Linked DNA regions of Homo sapiens: region 2 is linked to region 1. The links are contacts of gene promoters, found by promoter capture Hi-C in blood cells and fetal thymus (Javierre and others, 2016). All regions are on one chromosome and are shown on one strand. The core of a region is centred on a gene start or on the middle of the fragment in contact, and the rest is flanking DNA. Distances in the headings are between cores, read along the strand shown. Region 1 holds the start of SNAPC3 (small nuclear RNA activating complex polypeptide 3). Region 2 overlaps LOC124902123 (a long non-coding RNA gene).

Region 1 (5,654 bases), core at 3,125-5,624:
ATAAGTGTTCAATTGTAACTGTTTCTTTGGGTCTTCATTTCCTTATGAAGGATCCTATGCCACATAACACTTGTATGAAATTAATTTGCATGTTTTTCTCCTGTTGCTCCATCTTATGTCAATTTAATTCTCAGGCCCAGCTGAAAAATCCTAAGAGAGTAGAGGTAAAATTTTGCCTCCTTTACATAATGGCAAATACAGGAGAGCAGATGGCCTCAGCCCCAGTAGCTCCAAGTCACTTGACTTCTATCTTCTCCATTTTCTGCCTTTGCTTGTTCAAACTCTTGCCTCTGTTCCTTCTAACTCTTCCACTGGCAGGAACGGTCTGTGTCTAGGACACATTATTAGGTCCTTAGAATGGATAAAGGGCTTCTTGGTTTATAGATAAAACCCCACAGGAGGATTCCGATTGGCTCTATTTGAGACACTTGATCATCCTTGGACCAACCACTGTGGCCAGATTGGGAATGGTTCTATGACTGGCAGCCCCAGGAGGATCAAAAGTAGTAGGGAAGGTCAGCTCTAATAAACAATACTAGGCTGACAAAAACGATAGATATTTCCTACAACAATGTACTGATAAAAACCAGGGCTCCAGCTGGGCATGGTGGCTCATACCTGTAATCCCAGCACTTTGGGAGGCCAAGGCAGGAGGATAACTTGAGCCCAGGAGTTCAAGACCAGCCTGGGCAACATGGTGAAACCTCTTCTCTAAAAAAATAAAAAAATTAACTGGATGTGATGACAGCGTACCTGTAGTCCCAGCTACTCAGGAGATTAAGATGGGAGGATCACCTGAGCCTGGGAGGTCTACGCTGTGTCACACGCGTCAGTGTGAAGAGACTACCAAACAGGCTTTGTGTGAGCAATAAAGCTGGGTGCAGGCGGGCTGAGTCTGAAAAGAGAGTCAGCAAAGGGTATGGAATTATCATTAGTTTTTTCTTTTTTTTTTTTTTGAGACGGAGTCTCACTTTGTCGCCCAGGCTACAGTGCAATGGCGCAATCTCAGCTCACTGCAACCTCTGCCTCCCAGGTTCAAGCGATTCTCCTGCCTCAGCCTCCCAAGTAGCTGGAACTACAGGCACCTGCCACCACGCCCAGCTAATTTTTGTATTTTTAGTAGAGAAGGGGTTTCACCATATTGGCCAGGCTGGTCTCGAACTCCTGATCTTGTGATCCTCCTGCCTCGGCCTCCCAAAGTGCTGGGATTATAGGCGTGAGCCACGGCACCCAGCCTATCATTAGTTCTTATACGTTTGGGATAAGCGGTGGAGTTAGGAGCAATTTTTTTGTGGGCAGGGGGTGGATCTCACAACGTACATTCTCAAGGGCAGGGAGAATATTACAAAGTACGTTATCGCAAGGGCGGGGAGGGTGTATTGTCATACGGTCAATTGATCAGTTAGGGTGGGGCAGGAACAGATCACAATGGTGGAATGTCATCTTTTGTGGTTCTTCAGTTGCTTCAGGCCATCTAGATGTATATGTGCAGGTCACAGGGGATATAATGGCTAAGCTTGGGCTCAGAGGCCTGACACGCTGCGGTGAGCCTTGATTGTGCCAGTGCACTCCAGTCTGGGTGACAAAGCAAGACACTATCTCAAACAAACAAACAACAACAAAACAACCAGAAGGCCGGGCGCAGTGGCTCACGCCTGTAATCCCAGCACTTTGGGAGGCAGAGGTGGGCGGATCACCTGAGGTCAGGAGTTCTAGACCAGCCTGACCAATATGATGAAATCCCATCTCTACTAAAAATACAAAAAAATTAGTCAGGTGTGGTGGAATGCACCTGTAATCCCAGCTACTCAGGAGGGTGAGACAGGAGAATCGCTCCAACCCAGGAGGTAGAGGTTGCGGTGAGCCAAGATCGCACCATTGCACTCCAGCCTGGGCAATAAGAGGGAAACTCTGTCTCAAAACAAAAAAAAAAAAAAAAAAAAAGAAAGAAAAAAAAAACCAGAGCTCCTATGGAAACACAATAACTTTATTTAAAAATTGGTAAAGAACTTGAATATACATTTCCCCAAAGAAATATGCAAATGGTCAATAAGCACATGAAAACGTGTTCCATCAATATAATTAGGGAGATGCAAATAAAAAGTCATGAAACACCATTTCACACTCACTGACACGGTTATAATAAAAAGTTCAGATAAGTGTTGGCAAGGATGTGGAGAATCCTGCTGGGGAGGGGAGTAAAATGGGACAGCCACTTTAAAAAAATCTGGCAGTTCCTCAAATAGTTGAAAATAGAGTTCCATAAATACAGAAATCCCTTGGTATCTGCAGGGTGGACTGTTTCGAAGACCCCTGTGGACTCCAAAATTGACAGATGCTCTTCTTGCAGTCAGCCCTGTGGAATCCGCCCATAGGAAAATTCCTCTTATCCTCAGGTTCTGCAACCTGGGAATACTGTAATTTTTGATATGTGGTTGGTTGAATTGGAGGATGCAGAACCCACAGATAGGGAGGGCTGACTGTATACTACTGGGCACATGCCCAAGAGAAATGAAAACGTATTTGCACAAAAATGTGTACATGAATGTTCATAGCAACGCCAAAAGGTAAAAACTTTTTGATAAATAAAATGTGGCATATACATACAATGCAATATTATTCAGCCAAAAAAGGAATGAAGTACTGACACATACTACAAAATGGATGAACGTGTTACAGGTGGCAGGTATCCAAGTTACCAGGGCAAATCTGTATGGGTCTGCAGCAACTTCAGTTCTTGCCTCCTCAGAAGAAAGAATTTGACCGAGGGGCAATAAGGCACAAAAAGAGACTGAGGCAAGTTTCAGAGCAGGAGTGGAAGCTTATTTAAAAGGCCTTTAGGAAAGAAAGGAAAGCACGCTCGGAAGAGTCCCAAGCTGTCACTGAGGTCAACTGTGATATTGACCTCGATCCTAGGACTTTACAGGCTGGCTCCTTTCCCATGATTCTTCCCTTAGGGTGGGCTGCCTCCATGCGCAGTGCCCTCCTTACCCTTGGGAAGTGAGCACAGCGCAATATGTATGAAGTTGTATGCGTGCCCATCTGAGGCTTTCTTCCCTTTTCCGATAGAGTCCCCCTGAAAGGTCATACTCCCCGATTTTGTCTCTTAATGCATATGCCCAGGAAGTTGCTTCTCCCTGTCACCTGCATTCAACGAGCACTTTAGTGCAACAGGTGTGGGCCATCAGGAAATGGCCTCTCCCTGGCACCGGCTGCCAATTTATCACTTTTAGAGGCAATGTGATAAATGCCTAAGCATCACCCCACATTCCTAGTGGGTGAGGGAAGAGCCCTCTCCTGCCCTGCTCATGCCTAACTACCTGTAACAAACCTTGTAAACATTAAGCCAGCCACCAAAAGACCATATAATTCCGTTTATATTAAATGTCCAGATTAGTTAAATCTAGAGAGACAAAGTAGGTTCTTGGTTGGCTAGGGCTGGAGGAGTTGGGAGGATCAGGGGTGATAGCTAAAAAGTACAAGTTTCTTCTTTCGAGTGGTAAAAATGCTCTCAAATAGTGGTGATGGTTGCCCAAGCCTGTGAATATACCAAAAATCACTGAACACTTCAAATGGGTGAATTATATGGCATGTGATTACAGTCTAATAAATAAATAGTATGTCCTGCTGTATCCTTCAGGGCCTCTGAGAAATGGAGAGAGCTCCATCTGAAGCCAGACTGAGTTCCGATCCTGCTTCTATTTTCCCCGCAGGTAAATCCTTCCTCAACAGCAACACGGGGTGATACGCCCTATCCGGAAAGGTTGTTGTAATTTTTAAAAACATTAAAAACATACATTAGGGTTAATCATGTAGCGTGTGATACACAGACGCTCTGAAACACTACTGCACACGCACACCAACATGGGGCCTCTGCGGAGCTTGTGAAAGAACCAGATCTGGAGGGCTGGTCGTGTCCCTGGTCTCGGCCCTCGCCCTCCTTGTTTCTTAGGCTCTAAAGCAATCAGGCAGCAGAGCAGTCCTTGAACCCCAGTCAAGAAAAAGCCCTGCACCCCTTAGTCCGAAAGCCGCAAGGAACGGGGCCTAAGCGCCTGGCGAGGCCGCCCTACCGGGCAGAGACAGTTGCTACGTAACTCGGGGACCAGAAACCCAGCCCCACCCGCTGCGGTTAACCGACAGCCGCAACGGTTCCCGCACCGCCCGGGTCGGAGAACAATGCTGCGCCCTGCACGTAGAGCCTCGCGGTGCCGCGCCCTGGGGCGGGCCTGCCCATGGCCTGCCGGGAAATGTAGTTTCTGATGCCCTGCCCGCGCCGCCTCGCCGCTCGCCGGCCGGGCGCCCCAAGCAACTACAACTTCCATCACGCTCTGCGAGGCCTTGATCTGCAGGCTTTTGCAGGGGAAGGAGTGGGGCGAACATGGCTGAAGGAAGCCGAGGTGGCCCTACGTGTAGCGGGGTGGGTGGCAGGCAGGACCCAGTCTCCGGCAGTGGCGGCTGCAACTTTCCAGAGTATGAGCTTCCCGAGCTAAATACGCGCGCTTTCCATGTGGGCGCCTTTGGGGAGCTGTGGCGGGGCCGTCTGCGCGGGGCCGGGGACTTGTCGCTGAGGGAGCCGCCGGCATCCGCTCTGCCTGGGAGCCAGGCAGCTGACTCCGACCGGGAGGATGCCGCGGTGGCCAGGGATCTGGACTGCAGCCTGGAGGCGGCGGCTGAGCTGAGGGCGGTGTGCGGGTGAGTGCGGAGCAAAGGGGCTCTTGCAGCTTGGGGTCAAACAGGGTGCAGCCTTGCTCGTGCGCTCCTCTGGGACTCATCCCTGAGAAGGGCCTGTGGTTTAGACCTGGGCTAGGAGTATTACCCTTTAAAGCTTTCAACCCGCTGGAGCCTTCCTGGGACACCAGGAGAAGTCCTGGGACCCGAATGCACAGTTTCTACGAGTTGGAGCAAAGGGACAAGACAGCTGCATCAAAGACTAGTTTTTCCATTTGCTTATTCTAAGAGTGCTTGTTAATAAAGAAAAGCAATCAGGGCAACAGCGACGTGTACCTGCCATTGACAGACACTTTGACAATGGAGGAACCTGAGTAATGGTGAAGCTGCGGGAGACTTCATCAGAGGAGTGTTAAAACCCCGACTAACTGGTTTCTTTTGGGGACCTTCCGGGTATTCTGTTACTGAAATATTTCTTAAAAGTGCCTTATTTGGGGATGAAAATATAAAAATAACTTTAATCTCTTTCTCCATTTAACAGTACTGGCTGCCTTCATCGGCCTTTTCATTATAAAATATAATCACAGAAATCGTTGTCTTAAGTTCTGGCCTCTCTGAGCCGCCTGCTGGATTTTATCTGACTTCGTAATTCAGTAATGTATTTAGGAAAACAACCCTAACTCGCTGTGAACCAGATGCAGAGTCGACCTTAAAGTATTGCTTTTCCTTTTTGTTTTAGCCTTGATAAACTGAAATGCCTTGAGGACGGTGAGGATCCAGAAGTCATTCCGGAGAATACTGACCTGGTGACTTTGGGGTATGGAGGACTTGGTTTTTATGACCTATTTATTTAAACATTTTTTCAACATTATGTTTTGAAAAGTTGAAAGTGCAGTATTGATTGTTGTCTGTATACCCACCCCTTAAATTCAGCTGTTCTTAATATTTGACCATATTTACTTTAGCCGTGTGTATGGGATGCCTGC
Region 2 (5,053 bases), core at 2,235-4,734, 270 kb before region 1:
CTTAAATTCTCTTATTGCTGCTTATTCTTCCCTCTCAGCTTTAGAATCTATTTGTCATACCACTGGTATTTTGACTGGAGATGGGAAATTGATTTGGGAAAAACTGATATATTTGCAATATTTTATCTTTCTATCCACAGATATGGTCTCTCTTCTTTTATTCAAGTCTTCTACTATACCTCCCACTAAATTTTGTGACTTTCCTCATACAGGACTCACCCATTTTTTGTTAAAGAATAACTAGATAATCTAGCCTCTGAGGGGGTGACAGCTGGACTCAACTGATGAGAAGAAGTGAACCAAGCAAAGACTTGAGGGAAGTCAACTCCAGGCACAGCAAAGGATGAGTGCAAAGGCTATGAGGTGAGCCCAGTTGGCAGGAATAGGGAGAAGGTGAGTGTGGCTGGGACAAAGTGATCAAGGAAGAGTAGAAGAAGTTGAAGTTGGACTTAGGCAGGCCCAGATCAAATAGAGACATAGAGGCCACATGATGAGCTTAGACTTTTGCCTTATGCAAATTGAAAGCCATGGGAGACTTTAAAGCAGGCACTGACATGGACTTGCATGAGGGCAACTACCCCTGGTCTAGCTAGGAAGTTGCCCTCTCAATGTGACCATGTGGCTTCCTGACCTGTGGTCAGTGCCAAGACCTAACAGACAGACAGGAACTTGAGACAGCTAGAAGAAGTCAGTCCATAAATACCTGTGAGTGGCTCATCAGGATCACTAACCCCACAAGCCACACACTTATTGTGCTAGAGGCTGGTCCTGAACTCACCAGCACCACCAAAGGGAACTGGAGGTCCCAGAGAAAGGCAACCCTAATTCCCCATCTACCTTCACATGCCTACAAAAAAGCCCACATGATGACTGTAGCCATGAACACTTCTGGAGAGAAAGTAGCAGGCAAATACCCTCCTCCCACCAGCCTGCCCACCCTTCTCCCTCAAAGCTGCTACCAGAAAAAGTGTTGTGGGACGGGCATTTCCAATACCAAGGAAGGTGCCAGGAGTCACCAAACCACCCACAAATCTTAAGGGGATTGCCGTGGCCTCTTAGTCACCCAGCCGGAAGCTGCTATCTTCCTGGCAGGAATTGCCTCCCCCTCTACCCCTGCTATTGTGCCAGATGTTCAGGTTGCCTGAATACGTCTGCCCTGGTGGATTACTTCAGGCACCCCTGCCCAAGAACATTCATGGATGCCACACCTGGAACCTACTTGACCAACACTTCTAATGATTTTGTAAGCACCTAATTTCCTGTATTAAATTCTTTTCTTCTTAAAGTACCTAGAGTGATTTCTGTTGAACACTGACTAATATTCAAATAGCAGCACCAACACTCTGCCATGAGAGATGCAGCATGAGTTTGTGTCCTCAGCAATCTCTATCATCTTCCACTCCGTCTATTCACCTTGCTCTGTGAAACCATTCTGCCCAGCCACTGTCCTGGTGAGGCAACTGCCTCCACTTGCAACCTTCCCCTCTCTATGCTAAGGCCGAGTCCTGTGTTAAACCCATAAGAATCTTTTAGATTTCTTTTCTGTCTATTCTCTGTGGCCCTCCCAGAAGGCAACACAACCTGAGGTCCCCAGCAGAGGCAAGTCCACGAAAGGACTTCTGACACCAGCAATCCACGGGTTCATTCAACACATACTGAAGGTCTATGTTTTGCCAAGGCTGTTTGCAAGAGACCACAAAATTTCTGAAAGTCCCTGCATCAGCAAATGATTGATATAAAGGTAATCCTGCAGGGTACCAAAAGGTAGCCAAATTGTCCTTTCCAATCAACTTTCCATTGACATTTGAAAAAGGAAAAGAGGGTTGGGCACAGTGGCTCACGCCTGTAATCCCAGCACTTTGGGAGGCCATGGTGAGCAGATCATGAAGTTAGGAGTTCGAGACCAGCCTGGCCAACATGGCAAAACTCCGTCTTTACTAGGGATACAAAAATTAGCTCGGCATGGTGGCGGGCACCTGTAATCCCAGCTACTCGGGAGGTTGAGGCAGGAGAATCACTTGAACCCAGGAGGCGGAGGTTGCTCCAGCCTGGGCAACAAGAGCAAGACTCCATCTCAAAAAAAAAAAAGGAAAAGAGGACGTCAGTGTTTTGCCCCTGCTGCAGCATGCCAAGTTGTCTGGAGTACAGCAGAAAGCTTGGCAAAGTGGATTGAAGCACTTGCCTGAGCCTGCTGCTCCTGCAGCTCCAAAACCAAATGGGAGATTTTCAGTGGGGCAGACCCCTCTCATGGACGAACTTCACACAGGTGGAAGACAAGGTGGGAAAGTGGGAAAGCGGGAAAGCTCATTCAATCTTGAAACAATCAGAATATTTCTGCACAAGGCAAAGAGACTTGTCCTTTGTGTGCTGTGTGTGCATACAAGAACACACACACATATATACACTGCCTTGGTAGTCTTGGGGGAAAGCAATCTCTCGTGGTGCCTTGGAACTTCAAGCAAATGCTACCTGGTGCTGTGGATTTTGCCCTTTGGCCAACAGACTGTCTTCTGAATTGGTTCAAGTCTACGTAGGGTTTAGTATACAAAAAAAAAACAAAGATATTTTATTGGTTAAAGTGCAGTGAGTGGAATTTCATTTAATTATTAGTGAAACTGGTTTTTTTAGTACTTTTTTTGTATTGGTCTGCTCCAATAAAGCCTAGCCACTCTACATAAGTGCTCTGACTACCCCCAGTCAGCCTCACTCAGAAGGAGCCTTTCTCTGGCCTTCCCCTGGGGCATCTGGAAACAACAGACTCTGGTCCACGCTATTATATGATCTGCCCAAAGTCCCACCAGCAGCATTGTTATCCCTCCTGAGCAGATGGGGCTGACAGTGCCCACCTCTGAGGTTTGCAGCGTGACAGCCACCCTCCCCAGACAGATCTCCACAATGCAGTTCTTGGCCTTGAAGCATGAGTGCCGGGACCTTAATTCCCTCCTTTTTCCCTTTCCCCACTCAGTCAAAGGGTGGAGGTAAATGGCTATAAAGCTTGTTTTCTTGCACTTATATCTAATAAGCTGGGTTCTCTGAATTAGGCCTACTTAGAAAAGAAGTTTTAGAACTTAGACACCTATGCCCACTGGAAATGCACAGAAAATGTTGCATGAGGGCCTTTCCCCAAACTAAAGAATGGAATGTCCTATTGGCAGACTTTCTACTCTTTTCTTAATATTTCATTTTTGGTATCTGTGTTTCTTCCATTAATTGCCATTTTCATCCTTTTAATTTTGTATAATTGCCTACCATTTAAAACCCTTCCTATTTCAGTAGGTGCCCGGTCATTGATACTCAACATTATTTGAACAATTTGGTATAACAAAACAAATAAAATATACCATAGAGAAGAAAAAAGTGTACATTTGCTTGGAATAACAACAAAAATGACATCCATTGCAATCATCAATCGTCCACATTACACACGAACTGAGGTCTGAACCCAGAGACTTCAGAATGGGATGAAAGGCCTAGGAGGTTCCCAGCTTTCCTTCTATCTATCATTCTCAGCCAGTGAAGACTGAAAGCACGACATACCTTCCTGAGTTTGCCAAGGAAAAGTCCAACAGAATCTCCTTTGGTCATTTGAAATCCTGTTTTAAGGCTAAACAAACGTCCAAGCCACAAACCAGGATAAAGAAGCACAACCTCAATGACTGTCCCAGGTGACAGCTTGGAAGCCCAACCTGAGTTTAATCTCCAGCTCAAATGTGAATTACCTGTGTTGTTTTATTGCAACACATCCAACAAAGATAGGGAACAACGCAGCCTTAGCCTCATCTCCAGGTCCTTCCCAAAAAGGGGCTACTGTCAGAAGAGCTGAAAGTGGCTGGAAAGCTAGAGACTGTTAGCAGCATCCATAAGAGAGTCAACAAAAGGCTGTAACAAGAGGCCAGTTGGTGGCTGGCTGGCTGCTAGAGGCCACGTGGAGGAAGAAATTTGCTGGCCTTGGAATAGGAGTCTTTTCCTTTGGACTAAGCTTTAAAGAGTCTTCCTTTGGAGAGCAGAAGATTGCTCAAATAAAGAAAGAAACCAGCTTTATTAAAAAAAAAAAAAAACAGGTGAGAAAGGAACAAGATGAAATCAAATCTATTATGCTTCCTAAGATTTTGGAAGACTTCCAGGGACCAATGTTAGGGAAAATGAAAATTGAGCATCAAATGTTAATGGAAAAATCACTATCGGGGATGTGGAAAAATAAAGTTAATCTGGAAGGAAAAATGGAACAAATGTTGAATGTGTGGGCTTCCCAGTGGCTTGTATAAGAGCCACGAAAATGGATTTTAAGTATAGAAGATTCTGTTGACCTGGTATTGACTTGTTGCTCCATGACCAAATGGGGGACACAGGGTTTTAGCATCAGTTATTGAGATTTTGTGCTCCCTCAGTCCCCTCATTCGCCCCAACAATATCGCCCAAGAATGATTATCCAGCCAAGGATTATTTTGATAATCAAAATCATGGACACTTACTATTTTTTGTGTGTTTGTGTAAACTAAGTCTAGGGACACAGAGCTCATCTAGGAAGATGAGGAGGAGGGCATCCTAAAGGTACATGGTAGTGCTCCAATCTGCAATACCGTCCCTCCCCGCACCCTCACGCCATCTCACTTTCTGCTTAGACAGCAATAACAGGTGCCTCTCCACCTCGTCCTCCCCATTCCCCGAAAAAAGATTTGTAGAATTTAAGATGTGAAAAGCTGGGAACCACTGCACTAAACCACACTGTATCCAGTACTCCATACACAGATTGCCAAATGGCTGAAGAACAAGGTCTAGCCCTTAAAACGAATGAAGCTGGATGGCTAAAAGAGCATTGCAACAGAAATCTTTGTTCTACAAATGAACTGAACCTACCCAGACGGTCCTAACCATAAGGCCTATGGCATCCTTTCTAAGAGCCACAGTTTTGTTGACAAGGAACACCATGCTGCTATTTTTAAAGGAAGCATTCATCTTTCTGACAGCTAGTCAGTAAGTCACCTTTTGTGGTCAAACTTTGCGTGATTTGGCCTTAGGAAGCTCACCTGGGCGAGAAAGGGTAGGGGAAGAA

Evidence for each region. Contacts are between HindIII fragments. The CHiCAGO score rates a contact against its expected background, and 5 or more counts as called.
Region 2: a contact is called between a fragment that was not itself captured here and the fragment with the promoter of SNAPC3 in region 1, in 1 of 17 cell types (endothelial precursors). The highest score is 5.4, in endothelial precursors.

Annotation. Positions count from the first base shown.
Region 1 is chr9:15,418,502-15,424,155 of GRCh38, forward strand. It overlaps SNAPC3 (small nuclear RNA activating complex polypeptide 3), which reads left to right and starts at 4,375. Exons shown (of 9, transcript NM_001039697.2): 1 at 4,375-4,692; 2 at 5,408-5,485. The coding sequence starts at 4,379. RefSeq lists enhancers at 421-921, 4,732-4,851 and a silencer at 4,102-4,391. The HindIII fragment of the contact is 2,004 bases long and covers 2,820-4,823 here.
Region 2 is chr9:15,150,075-15,155,127 of GRCh38, forward strand. It overlaps LOC124902123 (a long non-coding RNA gene), which reads left to right. Exons shown (of 3, transcript XR_007061423.1): 2 at 213-363. Among named protein-coding and RNA genes, the nearest start is that of TTC39B, 150 kb to the right of the region's middle. The HindIII fragment of the contact is 985 bases long and covers 2,993-3,977 here.